2 separate regions of the Homo sapiens genome follow, and region 1 is linked to region 2. The links are contacts of gene promoters, found by promoter capture Hi-C in human tissues and cell types (Jung and others, 2019). All regions are on one chromosome and are shown on one strand. Each heading gives the region's core, a stretch centred on a gene start or on the middle of the fragment in contact. The rest is flanking DNA. Distances are from core to core; before and after follow the strand shown. Region 1 overlaps ARMCX5-GPRASP2 (ARMCX5-GPRASP2 readthrough). Region 2 holds the start of GPRASP1 (G protein-coupled receptor associated sorting protein 1).

Region 1 (7,107 bases), core at 2,214-4,713, 200 kb before region 2:
TACTCATGTAACCAAATACCACCTGTTCCCCAAAAACCTGTGGAAATAAAAAAAAAAAAGTAAACAAATAGTATTGTACAAATACAAAATAAATGAAAAGGAAAATAAAATAAAAAAAAGAAAGAAATTCCTTTACCCATGTCACCCTAGAAAGAAAGAAACCAAAAATCATGTGGAACAAAAGGAATGAAAAGACCTCAGGTCACTTTCTGCTGCTACATTTCCAGATACACTCTGTTTTAAATCTTCTATTTTATTACACGTAGGTATTTTATCTTGGTACCAGCAATCTTTCTTCTAAGAATCTATCCCAAAAACACAATGAAAAAAGACCAAATGGCATAAACACAAGGCCATTACTGGCAGAACAAATCATAACAACAGGAGACTAGAAATAAAACAAATGTCCACCAATAAGTGGTTTATTGAATAATCTAAGGTATATCTATATCCTAGAATACTATGCAGCAATAAAAAGCAAGGACTCCTTCTCTATACTGCTATGTATTGATCTCTAGAATATATTCTTAAGCGGAAAAAAATGAGGTGCAGAAATATGTCTGAGCTGTTGCTGTTTATTATGGTAGACACTAGCCACATATGGCTATTTAAATTTAGGTTGATTAAATTTAGATGAAATAAATAATTCAGTTCTTCAATTACAATCACCACATTTTGGGTGTTCAAGAACCACAGGGACCTAGTGGCTACTGTGGTGAACAGTGTAGACAGAGACTCTTTATCTCTGCAGAAATCATATTGGACTCCACTGAAGTAGAGTAGCCTACTTTTAAACCATAAAATAGGAGAAAATAATGTATTTGCTTATAATTTTAAAATTAGAAGGTCAAAACAAACATTGATAAAAATGATTATGCATAAAGGGATAGAACAGCAGCCCAGGATTAAAGACAATCATGTGTATTATCTCAAAATATAATACATATTTAATGGTTTTAAGCACTGAAAAGGATAAGTAATAATGACCAACCCAATAGTAATGGGCAACTCTAGTACCAAGAATGAGACCTCTAAAACATTTCCCACTAAAAAGAACCAGACTCCTTTGGAAAAAATGTCTGACTCCAGGTCTGGGGTAGGAATGGTACCAGAGGAGTCTAGACCAAACTAACATACTCAAAACCATGTCAAGAATAAGTTGAGCTAAAGAAGCTTCCATTCACAAAGACAGAAAAATCTGAACATCAATAAAAATATTGCAATAGGTTAAAACACATCAGATATAGAAACATCTAGAGCTTATGAAAACACTTTAAAATAATAATAGAATAGAACAAAAGAAAACAAAACAAAATCAACTCACTGCTCCCCTCTGAAGAATCCTAGAACAACCCATTATTTTGAAAAGTAGAAATATAACAAAAGAATTAAGCATTCATCTTATTTTCCTATGCATACTATACTAACCTATAGTTGATGAGGGGATGTTTCTTTTATAGAATAATTCAAGCTAATAAATGCCAAAAATAGAATTAGAACATCACCTTGCTACAACTTTTAATGAAATGTGGACTTATACACATTTAGAGGCTGCAAAATACTTGAGGTATAATGCAGATGGGAATTTTTATAATCAATAAATCTAACAACTTTTGAACCTAGTGATCAATCTTAACATCGTAAGAGGAGAGACAACTAGATACAATTAACCTCCTCATGGTATAATGCTTTAGGAATAAACAACACCACAGATTTTTCTGCCAAAAAATCTGAATTGGATCAAGACTCTAAATCTAATACAAATTTAAAGGAAAAGAAGTTGCCAGTGGAATATAATAAACAACACAATAAGGATATAAGTCAGCAAAATCCACAAAGCAAACTCCATAGGGCAAAATATCTTAAGCAAATAAATTGGAATGTGTGATGGTTAATTTTATGTGTCAACTTGACTGAGCAACAAAGGTCCCAGATATTTGGTCAGACATTATTCTGGGCTGGACATGGTGGCTCATGCCTGTAATCCCAGCACTTTGAAAGGCCGAGGTAGGCAGGTCACTTGAGGCCAGGAGTTCAAGACCAGCCGGGCCAACAGCCAAACCCTGTCTCTACTAAAAATACAAAAATTATCCAGGTGTGGTGGCACACGCCTGTAATCCCAGCTACTCAGGTGGCTGAGGCAGGAGAATTGCTTGAACCTGGGAGGTGGAGGTTGCAGTGAGCCGAGATGGTGCCACCGCACTCTAGCCTGGGCAACAGAGAGAGATCCTGTCTAAAAAAAACCAAACAAACAAACAAAAAAAAACCGTTATTCTTGGTGTGTCTTTGATGGTGTCTCTGGATGAGATTAACATTCAAATGGGTGAACTGAGTAAAGAAATTTGCCTTCTCTAATGTGCATGGGCCTCGTCCAATCAATTGAAGATGTAAACAGAACAAAAAGGCTGACCAGGAGGAATTTCTCTGCCTCATTTTCTGAACTGAAACATTGGTCTTTTCCTGCCTTTGGACATGAATTCAAATCACCTTTTCTTGTGTTTCTAGCCAGCAAGCTTTTGGCCTGGAATTTACAACATTAACTCTCCAGATTCTCAGACCTTCAGTTTTGAATAGGAACTATACCACAGGCTCTCTTGGAAATCAAGTTTGCCTACTGCAGATGTTGACAAATCTCAGCCTTCATAATTACATGAGCCAACTACTTATAATAAATCTTTATCAGTATGGTTCAACTTATAATTTTTCAACATTATGGTGGTACAAAAGTGATATCCATTCAGTAGAAACTGTACTTTGAGTACTCATACACCTGTTTTTCACTTTCTGTACAGTATTCAATAAATTACAGAAGATATTCAATACTTTATTATAAAATAGACTTTGTATGGAATGATTTTGCCCAGGTGTAGGCTAATGTAAGGGTTCTGAGTGTGTTTAAGGCAAATTAGGTTAAGCTATGATGTTCAGTAGGTTAGGTGTATTAAGTGCATTTTTGACTTATGATATTTTCAACTTAGGATAGGTTTATTGGGATGTAACTCCATAATAAGTCAAGGACCCTCTGTGTGTTTGTGTGTGTGTGTGTACATATATGTGTGTGTTTGTGTGTGTATATACATACAAGCATATCTCTGTTTTATTGCATTTCACAGATATTGCATGTTTTACAAACAGAAGTTTTATGGCAACCTTGCATCAAGCATGTCTATTAGCACCATTTTTCCAATAGCATGTGCTCATTTTGTGTGTCTGTCATATTTTGGTAATTCTCACAATATTTCAAATTTTTTCATTATTATTGTAATAGCTATTGTGGTGATCTGTGAACAGTGGTCTTTGATTTTACTGTTGTAATTGTTTCGGGGCAGGCACCACAAACTACACCCATCTAAGATGACTAACTTAATTGATAAATGTATGTGCTCTAACTGCTTCACTGACTGGCTGTTTCTCGGTCTCTCTCCCTGTCCTCAGGCCTCCCTATTCCCTGGGACACAACAATATTGAAATTAGGCTATTATATTAACCCTATAATGGCTTTGAATGTTCAGGTGAAAGGACGAGTCCCATGTCTCTCACTTTAAATCAAAAGCTAGAAATGATTACACTGAGTAAGCAAGGCATGTCAAAAGTTGAGACAGGCCAAAAGCTAGGCCTCTTGCACCAAACAGCCAGGTTGTGAACACAAAGTAAATGTTTTTCAAGGAGATTAAAAGTTCTCCTCTAGTGAACACATGAATGAAAAGAATGCAAAACAGCCTTATTGCTGGTAAAGAGAAAGTTTTAGTGACCTGGATAGAAGATCAAATCAGCCACAACATTCCCTTAAGCCAAAGCATAATCCAGAGCAAGGCTCTAACTCTATTCAATTCTATGAAGGCTAAGAAAATGTGAGGAAGCAGCAGAAGAAAAGTGTAGCCAGAAGAAAAGCTGGAGCTAGCAAAGGTTGGTTCGTGAGGTTTAAGGAAAGAACCCATCTCCACAACATGAAAGTGCAAGGTGAAGTAGCATGTGCTCATGTAGAAGCTACAGCAAATTATCCAGAGACATAGGTAAAATAATTGACGAGGGTTGCTATACTAAACAAAATATTTTCAATGTAGAGAAAACAGTTTTATAGTGGAAGAAGATGCCATGTAGAACTTTCATAGCTAGAAAGTAGAAAACAATGCCTGGCTTCAAAGCTTCGAAGGACAGACTAACTCTTTTTTTTAGGGGTTAATAAAGCTGGTGACTTAAAATTGAAGCCAATGTTCAATTACCATTCTGAATATCCAAGGGCCCTTAAAAATTATGCTAAATATACTCTGTCTGCATTCTAGAAATAAAACAACAAGCCTAAATGACAGCACCTCTGTTTACAGCATGGTTTACTGAATACTTTAAGCCCGCTATTGAGGCCTACTGCTCAGTGATTCCTCTGGTGGACCCAGGCAAAGTAAATGGAAAAATCTTCTAGAAAGAATTCATTTTAAATGCCATTGTGAACATTGTGATTCATAGGAAGAGGTCAAAATATCAACATTAAAAGGAATTTGGAAGAAGTTGATTCCAACCCTCATGGATGACTTTGAGGGGTTCGAGACCTCAGTGGAAGAATAACTGCAGATGTGATGGAAACAGCAAGAGATCTAGAATTAAAGTAGAGCTTGAAGATGTGATGGAATTGCTGCAATCTCAAGATCAAACTTGAACAGATAAGGAGTTTTTTCTTCTGGATGAGTAAAGAAAGTGGTTGGTTGAGATGGAATCTACTTCTGTTGAAGATGCAGTGAGCATCATTGAAATGACAACAAAAGGTTTAGAATATTACATAAACTTGATAAAGCAGTGGCAGGGTTTGAAAGATTGACCTTAATTTTGAAATAACTTGAACTCTGGGTAAAACGCTATCAAATAGTATCACATGCTTATGGAAAAATCTTTTGTGAAAGGAAGAGTCAATGGATGCAGCAAACTTCATTGTTGTCTTATCTTAAGAAATTATTAGAACTGTGCCAACTTTCAGCAACCACCACCCCGATCTGTTAGCCATCAACAGCATCAAGGCCCTCTACCAACAAAAAGATAATAATTCACTGAAGGCTCAGATGATTGTTAGCAGTTTTTAGCAATAAAGTCTTTTTAAATTAAGGTAAGTACACTATTTTTATAGACATAATGCTATTTGCATATTTAATAGACTACAGTAGTGTAAACATAACTTTTATATGCAGTGGGAAACCATAAAATTCATGTGACTTGCTTAATATGGTATTTGCTTTATTGCAGTGGTCTGCAACTAAACCTGTAATATCTCTGCAATGTCTCTGTGTGTGTGTGTGTATATATATATATACACAGATATACATACATACATATATGAGTGTATGTGTATATATGTGTGTATATATATACACATATATCACACACATATACATATATATGTACACATATATATATGAGTCGTTCTGTTTTGTTGGAGAACTCTAAGTAGAAGGTTGAAAAAAAGGATGGACCTTCTTTGAATTAAAAGGGACTTGACACTTTGGAGAAATTACAATTAAAACCAGTAGGAGATAGTACCACATGCTCACCAGAACAACAAAAATGGAAAAGATGGAAAATACCAAGTGCTGGTGAGGATATGGATTAAGTGAAACTCTCACACACTGCTGGTGGGAATATAGATTGAAAAAAAAAAACACTGTAAAAACTGCTTGGTGGTATCTATGGAGCCACACACAGACATACCCTATGACTCAGGAATGCTATTCTTTGGTATATGCCCAAGAGAGATGAAAATATATGTCCATCTATTTGATACAAACAAAAATGTTCGTATGATCATTACTCATGATAAGTCAAAAACTGGAAAATACCCAAGTTTTTATAACAGATAACTATATTGTGAAGTATCCAAACAATATAATACTTTACAACAACGAGAATGAATAATCTACAACTACAAACAACAATACATGTTAATCTCACACACATTATGTTGATTGAAGGGAGCCAGACACAAGAGAGTGCATGCTGTATGATTCCAGTAATATTTCTTCTAACCTCCTGATAAAGCTTGAGGAAGGAGAATATCAACAACCTATTTCTTTTTCTTTTAAGTTACTTAGTGTCCTCTTATGTTATGTAGCTTAACCTCAGAGAAGCAAAGCAAGTTTCTTCTGAGCCCTTTAGAAGTGAACAACTGCATATAAGATCAAAAGCTAATACTATGTCTGGTGGACAGACAACTGGGTGTGAGTGATTCAGACGAGAATCATACATGGATGCGCAGTCTGCACAAAATCCCACAGTAGTCAATGAGTCACCATGGTAACCATGCTGGCCAAGGAGAAAGGTGGAAAAAAAGCAAAGAATAATCACTCTGATTTGGTTCATAAAATGTGCGAAGAATTGAAAGAGACTGACATGACCACATTAACACTCCTTAAGTGTTCCTAACAATAGATACTCATCACAACTTCAGTGATATAAACATATATATATATATATATATATATATGTGCATGTACATACACTGATATATCCACATGCTCTCTCGCTCTCTCTCACCACCAAAGAACTCATGATTCATCAGGTAAGGAAGAAAAACACAATTCAACTGATTCAATTCTAACCACAAATATAAAATTGGAAGTACTATAACTATTCTTTTATAGATTGATCTTTCTAGAGTTGACCTGTAGATTGTCTTTAGGCCTTTTCTTCTCTTCTTGAGTTGGATGACTCAGTTTTGTTATGATGTCTGTTCTCCCCAAAATGATCTATGCTTTCAATGGAATCCCAGTCAAAATACTAGCATAAATTTTTTTCTAGAAATTAACAAGTTGATATTAAAATTCATGTGGAATTCCCTCAATTTTTGTTTTTCTGATTTAAAGTCTTTTAAAAAATGTAAAACGAGGCTAAAACTGATAGACTGCAAGGAGAAATATTAATACATGAATCAAATTGCTAGGGACATCTTCTAACTAACTGCATAGTTCAACCCCCATCTGGGAGATAAATGGGAATGACTTATACAGTCAGAAAAAATATGTATTTATTACAAGTGCATATTAAGATCAAGTTCTTTCTTCAGTGTGGGTAATTCATTGCTTTCAAAGCAGGCATCACTTAGATGGGTGTCAAGGGCTACTTCAA
Region 2 (7,286 bases), core at 618-3,117:
CATGCTGGTCTCCACTACCCCGCCCAAAAGTATACCCACTCTCATACCAACCTTCACTTATGTGGTGCAGTTTCCCCCTCCTTTTCTTGTTCAAGTAGTGTCAAGCCCCACAGCTGACAGAAGGGGGTCCTACAGACAAGTAAACATACAGGAGAGAATGGAGAATGGTAGATAGGCAAGCACTCTGGCTCCTGTGACAAATATCTGTCTTCCCATTCAAGGGTTCAATGTATCTATGGTTTCCTGTGTCCTGGTCCCTGCTCTCAGGTCTTTCTGAGTCACAACACAACCTACACCTATCTCATGTCCCCTGCAAGAAATAAAAAGGATGCTGGCACTGTGCAAATCCAGCAGAGTAGAAGTGGGTCTGCACCCACTGGTCTCAAAGCCACCTGCCATGCTCTCTTTCTCCAACTGTCCCCTGAATTGCCCCCTCCCCCTTCTCACCAACCTCCAGAGGTGTGAGCCAGTCTCCTCCTCCTTGCCTTTCTTGCAGAACTGGCCAGCCTTAAAGCAGGCCTATGGACAAACAGATGAAAAAGTAAGACAGGAAATGAGGGGTGGCAGTAAAGCCCTTGGTAGAGAGACCAACGCTAAGGATAAGAATCCCCATATTATTGATATCTGTCTTTCAACATTCGGGGTTTTGCTGGTGGAATATTCTCGTTTTGTTTAGGCCCTGCTTCAAGGTTCTAGAGATAACAACTCCTTCTCTTGACGTCATACTCTTCTCATTACTCCCTTCTCCAATTCTGAGGATTCACCACTAGGTGCGCCACATCCCCTTGCTCTGCGCAGCAGAAAATGGGGGAAGGGCGCCACATATTCTAGAAAACAGGTCGTGAATTGGTACTTGTCAGTATGTCTCCCTCATCACCCCTACCTCCAAAGCTCACCCTTTCAAGCCCCCAGTTTAGGACGGTGGGGGAGGCAGATGGGGATGGAAGGTGGGGGAAGCGCCTGGAACACCATTAGAGAGGGGAAGATTAAGAGGTGCTCCTGGATGCCTGACCTGCTCTGGTCGCAGTCCCCCACCCCGATTCGGTTCTCCAGTGTTTGGCACCCACCCCACATCCCCACACACCTCCAGAAATCCAGGGAATATTCGTGCTCCTCCTTTATTTCAAGCCTCTCCTCTACAGATGCTCACTGTGTCCTGTCAGAATACGCCAGACCTACCGCGCAGACAGACTTTGACATCAACCTGGAGTCTGTGGGAAGGGACAGCACCCAGGACACGGGGCCCCACAGGCCCCTTTCCGGAATCAGGGCCCGGAGCAGCGAACGCGACCCACCTCCCACGGGCTAGGCACAGAGCTGGGACGCTGGCCCACGAGGGCCCCCCCAGGCGCCCCCCAACTGCCTCCCGGGCGCCCCCCAACACGGCTCCCGTTTGGCCATTTCTCCCGCAGGAGCCTCCCCCACAGCCGTCTCTCGGTACCGAAACCGTCGAGGGCTGCGCGCGGGCGCCTGCAAAGCTGGCTGGGAAGCGGTCAGCGCGGTTCTCCTCCAGACGATCTGACGGTGCCTCTGGAGCCAGCCCCTCAGCCCTTGGTCCGGCCTGGCCCGCACCAGTCACCGCCTCCCCATAGCCAGGGATCTCGGGCACTGCGCACCTCTCTCTAGCGCCCGGCTCCGAACGGATCGTCTCCTCGTTGCCAGGCTGTCAGGGTCCGGGGGGCAGGTTGCCAGCCGGTCCACCCTGGCGGACCACCCCCACACCACGGCCCCCCACCTCACGCACCCCTACTTGCCTTCAGAGGCCCAGAGCCCAGGTCATCGGCCTCCCCCTCCTCTCTTCAGCTCTCCTCTGGCTGCTCTTCAGTTGGATTCCCACCGCTTTCCCAGCGATCCGAATGGCAAAGACGAGTCCCGCCCCCCACGCCTCTGCACCAAACTGGGCAGGGGCTGCGCAGGATGCGGCAAGAACCGCTCTCCGCGAGGGTGTCGGGAAGGGGGGCGGAGGGATACGGCGCGAAAGTGCAGGACGCCCCCCCTCACAGAACCACCATAGTTCCGACCCAGAGGTGGGCGGGGCCAGGACGAGCCCCAGCCGGGGCCTGCGGGTTGGCACCAGGCTGCCTCAGGAGGACCCCGCGGACCCTAACGTGGCGACGACCACCACATTTCTGGCGCTGCTATAATATATGGCACCGGCGGGCGGCTGCGGGGCCGGGCGGAGGACAGGATCGCGAGGTCGCGAAGAGCCGCGCTGGAGGGAGCAGCGGATGGATACCAAACCGTCCCTTGGTGTGTCTGCACCCCCGCCCCAACCGCCCCCCTATAAGGACTGCTGGGTGTTTGCCCTCTCCCCCTCCCTAGTCTGCTCACCCTCCTTCCTGGATGTTAATGGGAGAGGGGGTGTCAGCACTGCAGTGTGGGAGGGGAGAGGCGATTTCAGTCCAGACAGGCCCGGGGTTCTAGGGTGGTCGTCCTGTGCGTTTCTTTCCCAGCTTCGTGGAGCCACGCAGGGGAGGAAGGTACACCTGCTCTTAAGTGAACTCCGGGGCAGGGGGCTCCCATCAAGGACTCACCACTGCCCCTCTTCTAAAAGAAGGTAGACCTAGACCTCTAACCCTAGGAAACCAACCACTGGTCTGCACCAGACTCATTTCTTTCTGCCACACCGCTGTTTCTCATTTCAAATGGTGGCTCACGTTGGCATTGCACCGTCCCCACAGTTGCCCCCAAAAGAGGACCTTTCCCTGTCAGGACCCGCAGGAGGTCATAACAGTCCTCTCTCTTTGATGCCGCCAGGTAGGGATGGTCCTGGCTTCTCTTCGGTTCCCTGTCAAGTCTTCTCTTGCCATGATATTTGGCAGTGTGGAAATGTGGCTGGTATCAAACCAGCTTGGATCTCCGCCACCTGCCACAACTACCTATTGTTTCAGCAGTCATTCTCAGGAGAGGATCCCACCGTGCACCCCCCTCCCCGAGACAAAGCAACCTGGCTCATTTGAATCCTCTTCTTTCACCCCCACATCCGTCCTCTACTCTTGAGCCCCTCCTTTCCCTGCTTCCTGCATGGGACAGACAGAGCAATGTGGTTAAACACCAAGTTGATGTTGTTACTGTTGTCCATTTGAAAACTCATTTAGACACTACCCTCATTGTGTTTGGCAGGTAACGGTCCCCTAAAGATGTCCATGTCCTGTTCTCCAGAACATGTACCATTTTATATTACCTGACAAAGGATCATTAAGATTGCTATTCAGCTGAGTTTAATTTAAGATTATTCTGGGTTATCTTGGCCAATGTAATTGCAAGGGTACTTTAGATGTGGAAGGCAGGGACTCCATGTCAGATTGAAGCAGCATAGAAAGTCTACACTGGTCATCGTTGGCTTTGAAGATGGAAGGAAGCCAAGATCCAAGAAATACAGGCTGTCTCCAGAACCTGGAAAAGACAAAGAAACAGATTCTTCCCTAGAAATGCCAGAGGGATAGCTCCTCTGGCAACATCTTGATTTTAGTGTGGTGAAGCCCTTTGAAGATTTCCAACCTTCCAGGACTGTAAGATAATAATAAATTGGTATTATTTTAAGCCATTCCATGTATGGTAACTGGTTACAGGGTAGCAGCACCAGACCTATCTGGTTTAACTTTTATATAACAAAGTTGTGCATTGTCTTTCAGTTGCCGGGGACCCTCAGATCATGTTACCTGAGCATCCTCAGATGAACCAAGCATGCAATCAGAGGGAGAATGTAAGTGTTTTGAATTAGGACCAGGGCTGAATTAAGAAGTGGACACTGGATGGCAGGATCCAGTCAGATCATGCCTCTCAGCATCACCTCATTGTAAGATCCAAAGCCATCAGGATATACCCTTAATACCCAATGCTTATGAAAACCTGACCCAGCCCCCATCTCAGGGAGACATTATTTTGGGAAGTATCCCTGGTGGTCTCATTACTTCGTTACAAGTAATAAATCCCCTTACTAAATCCTTGCTGTGATCATGGGGTTGATGTCAAACGACTGAACCCACCCACTGTGTTGGTTGGTAACAATAGCAGGAGTAGGAACAGAATACACTCACCATCCTGATGAATTCTATTCCCATTGCCTTTCTTTACCTGTGCTTCAGTCTCTGAGAAATATTTTAGGGCTCATCTCACCAATACAGCCACCAATCCCCTTTACTGTTTTATAATTATGTCCAAAATCACATTTGCACAAGCTTCTGTGGTAATTCTGCAGGTGCTAGGATCTTTATTCCAAGATATTTACTGACAGAGGAATGGTTCTACCAAAAGCTGACAAATTTTACTGTGTGAGACTTTAAAATGTGTGTTGGACAATTTGTTGTCAGTACTCTTAGAAAACATGGTCTTGTATTGGTTAGTATGTATTGAAGTGATAAAGGCCCTACTTTAAGCTTTTCATATGTTAGCTTTGTATGGGTATGTATCAAATAGATTATTATTTTTAAAACCTTTGAGCAAATAAAAGATTGAAATAAGATACTCTGACTGCTAAGCACTATTTATTTCCTCCTATAATTGATTCTAGTTCAATAAATTGCAACAGTCATCTTTCTACTCCTCAGTGCCTACACTAGCACCTGTGTAACCCTGACTTACCACTGAAATCTAAATGTCAGAGCCAAATAATCCATAAGCATTAAGTCCATGATACAGATGCAACTGTGCTCACTCATCATACTCACTGTTTTCTTCCAAATCCCACCCACCACCCCCAAGCATGCTCATGAACTTGCACACCAGCCTATCACTTGCCTGTTCTCCTCTTGTCTGTCTCAATCACCATGGTCATGGACTTGTTTTTGCCTATTTAGTTTTACTTGCCTCTATACTGTCCTTTATGGGCCTCAAGCAAAGCTTCCTTCTGAGACTTCTCTTTTGGTCGAGGCTGAGCCAAACCCTGTGTTTTCTTATAATGTATCCCCTTCTTCTATCTCAAAGTTTCAAAGGTTGTACACAGAAATTAAAGTCCCCTGTAGTCAGGAATAACTAGGCTGAGGTTGGTCTGGTGAACTATATGGTGAAATTGGCCCAACAGATGTCTATTTTCAGTGTAGCCTGAAAATGCTATGGGAAAGATCTCAGCCTGTCTCTACTTCTTGAGACAGGGTACATTTGCAGAACTGGTGGGGAGGCCTGGCCCAAGAATATTTTCAGGTCATATTTGGGGTGGGGTCTACTTCAAGAGAATTAATCTTGAAGAAAAACCAAGTCACGCACAAGGACCCTAGCCCATGAACAATGCCTTGCCATTAGGGAAGTATAGATATTCTAATAGCAACACTGAAATTATTATAGAACTCCTATTTGTGCCTATTCCAACACAAACCCTCAACTGTATATCTGTCATAGCAAAGGCAGGTTTATACATATCCAGGAAATAACTGTCTTTAAGTAAACTCTGTAATGCTCCAGTGTAAGGAACCCATTAATAAAGCATAACCTAAAGAGAGGAAAATATCCTCCTTTCTAACATGGATTTAAACTTTTGACTACTACTCAGATCTGACATCATGAAAACCCTGTGTATAGGTGGAGTTAGGAAATTAGAGAGAACAGTTAATTAGAGGACATTAAATGCCTGGCAATACAGCTTAGAATGGCAGCAACAACTGGAAGAATCACAGGAAAACCCCAAAAATTCAGGACATAGGAAATACCCCTTGAGGATTTTTAGAACTATAGGAGCTGGCAAGGAGAGCTAATTAGCTTTACAGGGAGAAGAAAACCTGAATTTCCACAATGTCAATAAATATTAGAAATTAATGGAATGTCAAATTGCTTTCTATAATAGAAAAAATAATGAGAAAACTACACTACCTTTTGTTGTTGTTTCTCATTAACTAACCATCACTTCCTGCCTCATCATGATAGGGCCTCACCACAGCCTGCATCCAGCCAGCAAATGAGAAAAAGGAGAATAGAAGTAGTTGATTTCCTTCTTAAAATCCATGGTGAGGAAATGCTCACATCATTTCCACTCACATTCCATTGATGGGACTTGATATGGTTTGACTGTGTCCCCACCCAAGTCTCAACTCGAATTGTAACTCCCAGAATTCCCACATGTTGTGAGAGGGACCCAGGGGGAGGTAATTGAATCATGGGGGCCAGTCTTTCCAGTGCTATTCTCATGATAGTGAATAAGTCTCACAAAATCTGATGGGTTTATCAGGGGGTTCTATTTTTGCTTCTTCCTCATTTTTATATTGTCACTGCCATGTAAGAAGTGCCTTTTACCTCCTGCCATGATTCTGAGGCCTCCCCAGCCATGTGGAACTGTAAGTCCAATTAAACCTCTTTTTCTTCCCAGTCTCGGGTATGTCTTTATCAGCAGCGTGAAAACAAACTAATACAGTAAATTGGTACCGGTAGAGTGGGGTGTTGCTCAAAAGACACCCCAAAATATGGAAGCGACTTTGAAACTGGGTAACAGGCAGAGGTTGGAACAGGGCTCAGAAGAAGACAGGAAAATGTGGGAAAGTTTGGAACTTCCTAGACACTTGTTGAATGGCTTTGCCCAAAATGTTGATAGTGATATGGAAAATAAAATTCAGGCTGAGGTGGTCTCAGATGGAGATGAGGGACTTGTTGGGAACTGGAGCAAAGGTGACGCTTGTTATGTTTTGGCAAAGAGACTGGCAGCATTTTGCCCCTGCCCTAGAGATTTGTAGAACTTTGAACTTCAGAGAGATGATTTAAGGTATCTGGCAGAAGAAATTTCTAAGCAGCAAAGCATTCAAGAGGTAACTTGGATGCTGTTAAAGGCATTCAGTTTTATAAGAGAAGCAGAGCATAAAAGTTTGGAAAATTTGCAGGCTGACTATGCGATAAGAAAGAAAAACCCATTTTATGGGAAGAAATTCAAGCCAGCTGCAGAAATTTGCATAAGTAGCAAGCAGCCTAATGTTAATCCCCAAGACCATGGGAAAAATGTCTCCAGGCCATGTCGGAGAACTTCCCAGTAGTCCCTCCCATCACAGGCCTGGAGGCCCAGGAGGAAAAGTGTTCTTGTGGGCTGGGCACAAGGCCCCCATGCTGTGTGCAGCCTGGGCACTTGGTGCCCTGTGTCCCAGCTGCTCCAGCTGTGGCTGAAAGGGGCCAACATACAGCTTGGGCTGTGGCTTCAGAGGGTGGAAGCCGCAAGCCTTGGCAGCTTCCACGTGGTGTTGAGCATGCAGGTGTACAGAAGTCAAGAACTGAGGTTTGGGAACCTCTGCCTATATTTCAGAAGATGTAAGAAACGCTTGGATGCCCAGGTAAAAGTTTGCTGCAGGGGTGGGGCCCTCATGGAGAACCTC

What was found. Contacts are between HindIII fragments. The study calls those that stand out against the background at their distance.
Region 1: a fragment that was not itself captured here is called in contact with the fragment with the promoter of GPRASP1 in region 2 in 1 of the 25 tissues and cell types used here (hippocampus).

The regions. Positions count from the first base shown.
Region 1 is chrX:102,846,169-102,853,275 of GRCh38, reverse strand. The region is part of intron 12 of ARMCX5-GPRASP2 (ARMCX5-GPRASP2 readthrough); the gene reads right to left. All of the region lies in intron 3 of LINC00630 (long intergenic non-protein coding RNA 630), which reads right to left. Among named protein-coding and RNA genes, the nearest start is that of LINC00630, 81 kb to the right of the region's middle. The HindIII fragment of the contact is 3,240 bases long and covers 1,844-5,083 here.
Region 2 is chrX:102,646,064-102,653,349 of GRCh38, reverse strand. GPRASP1 (G protein-coupled receptor associated sorting protein 1) reads right to left here and starts at 1,867. Exons shown (of 6, transcript NM_001184727.2): 1 at 1,755-1,867; 2 at 1,617-1,663; 3 at 1,085-1,175; 4 at 452-519; 5 at 52-129. All of the region lies in intron 4 of ARMCX5-GPRASP2 (ARMCX5-GPRASP2 readthrough), which reads right to left. The HindIII fragment of the contact is 5,623 bases long and covers 1-4,611 here.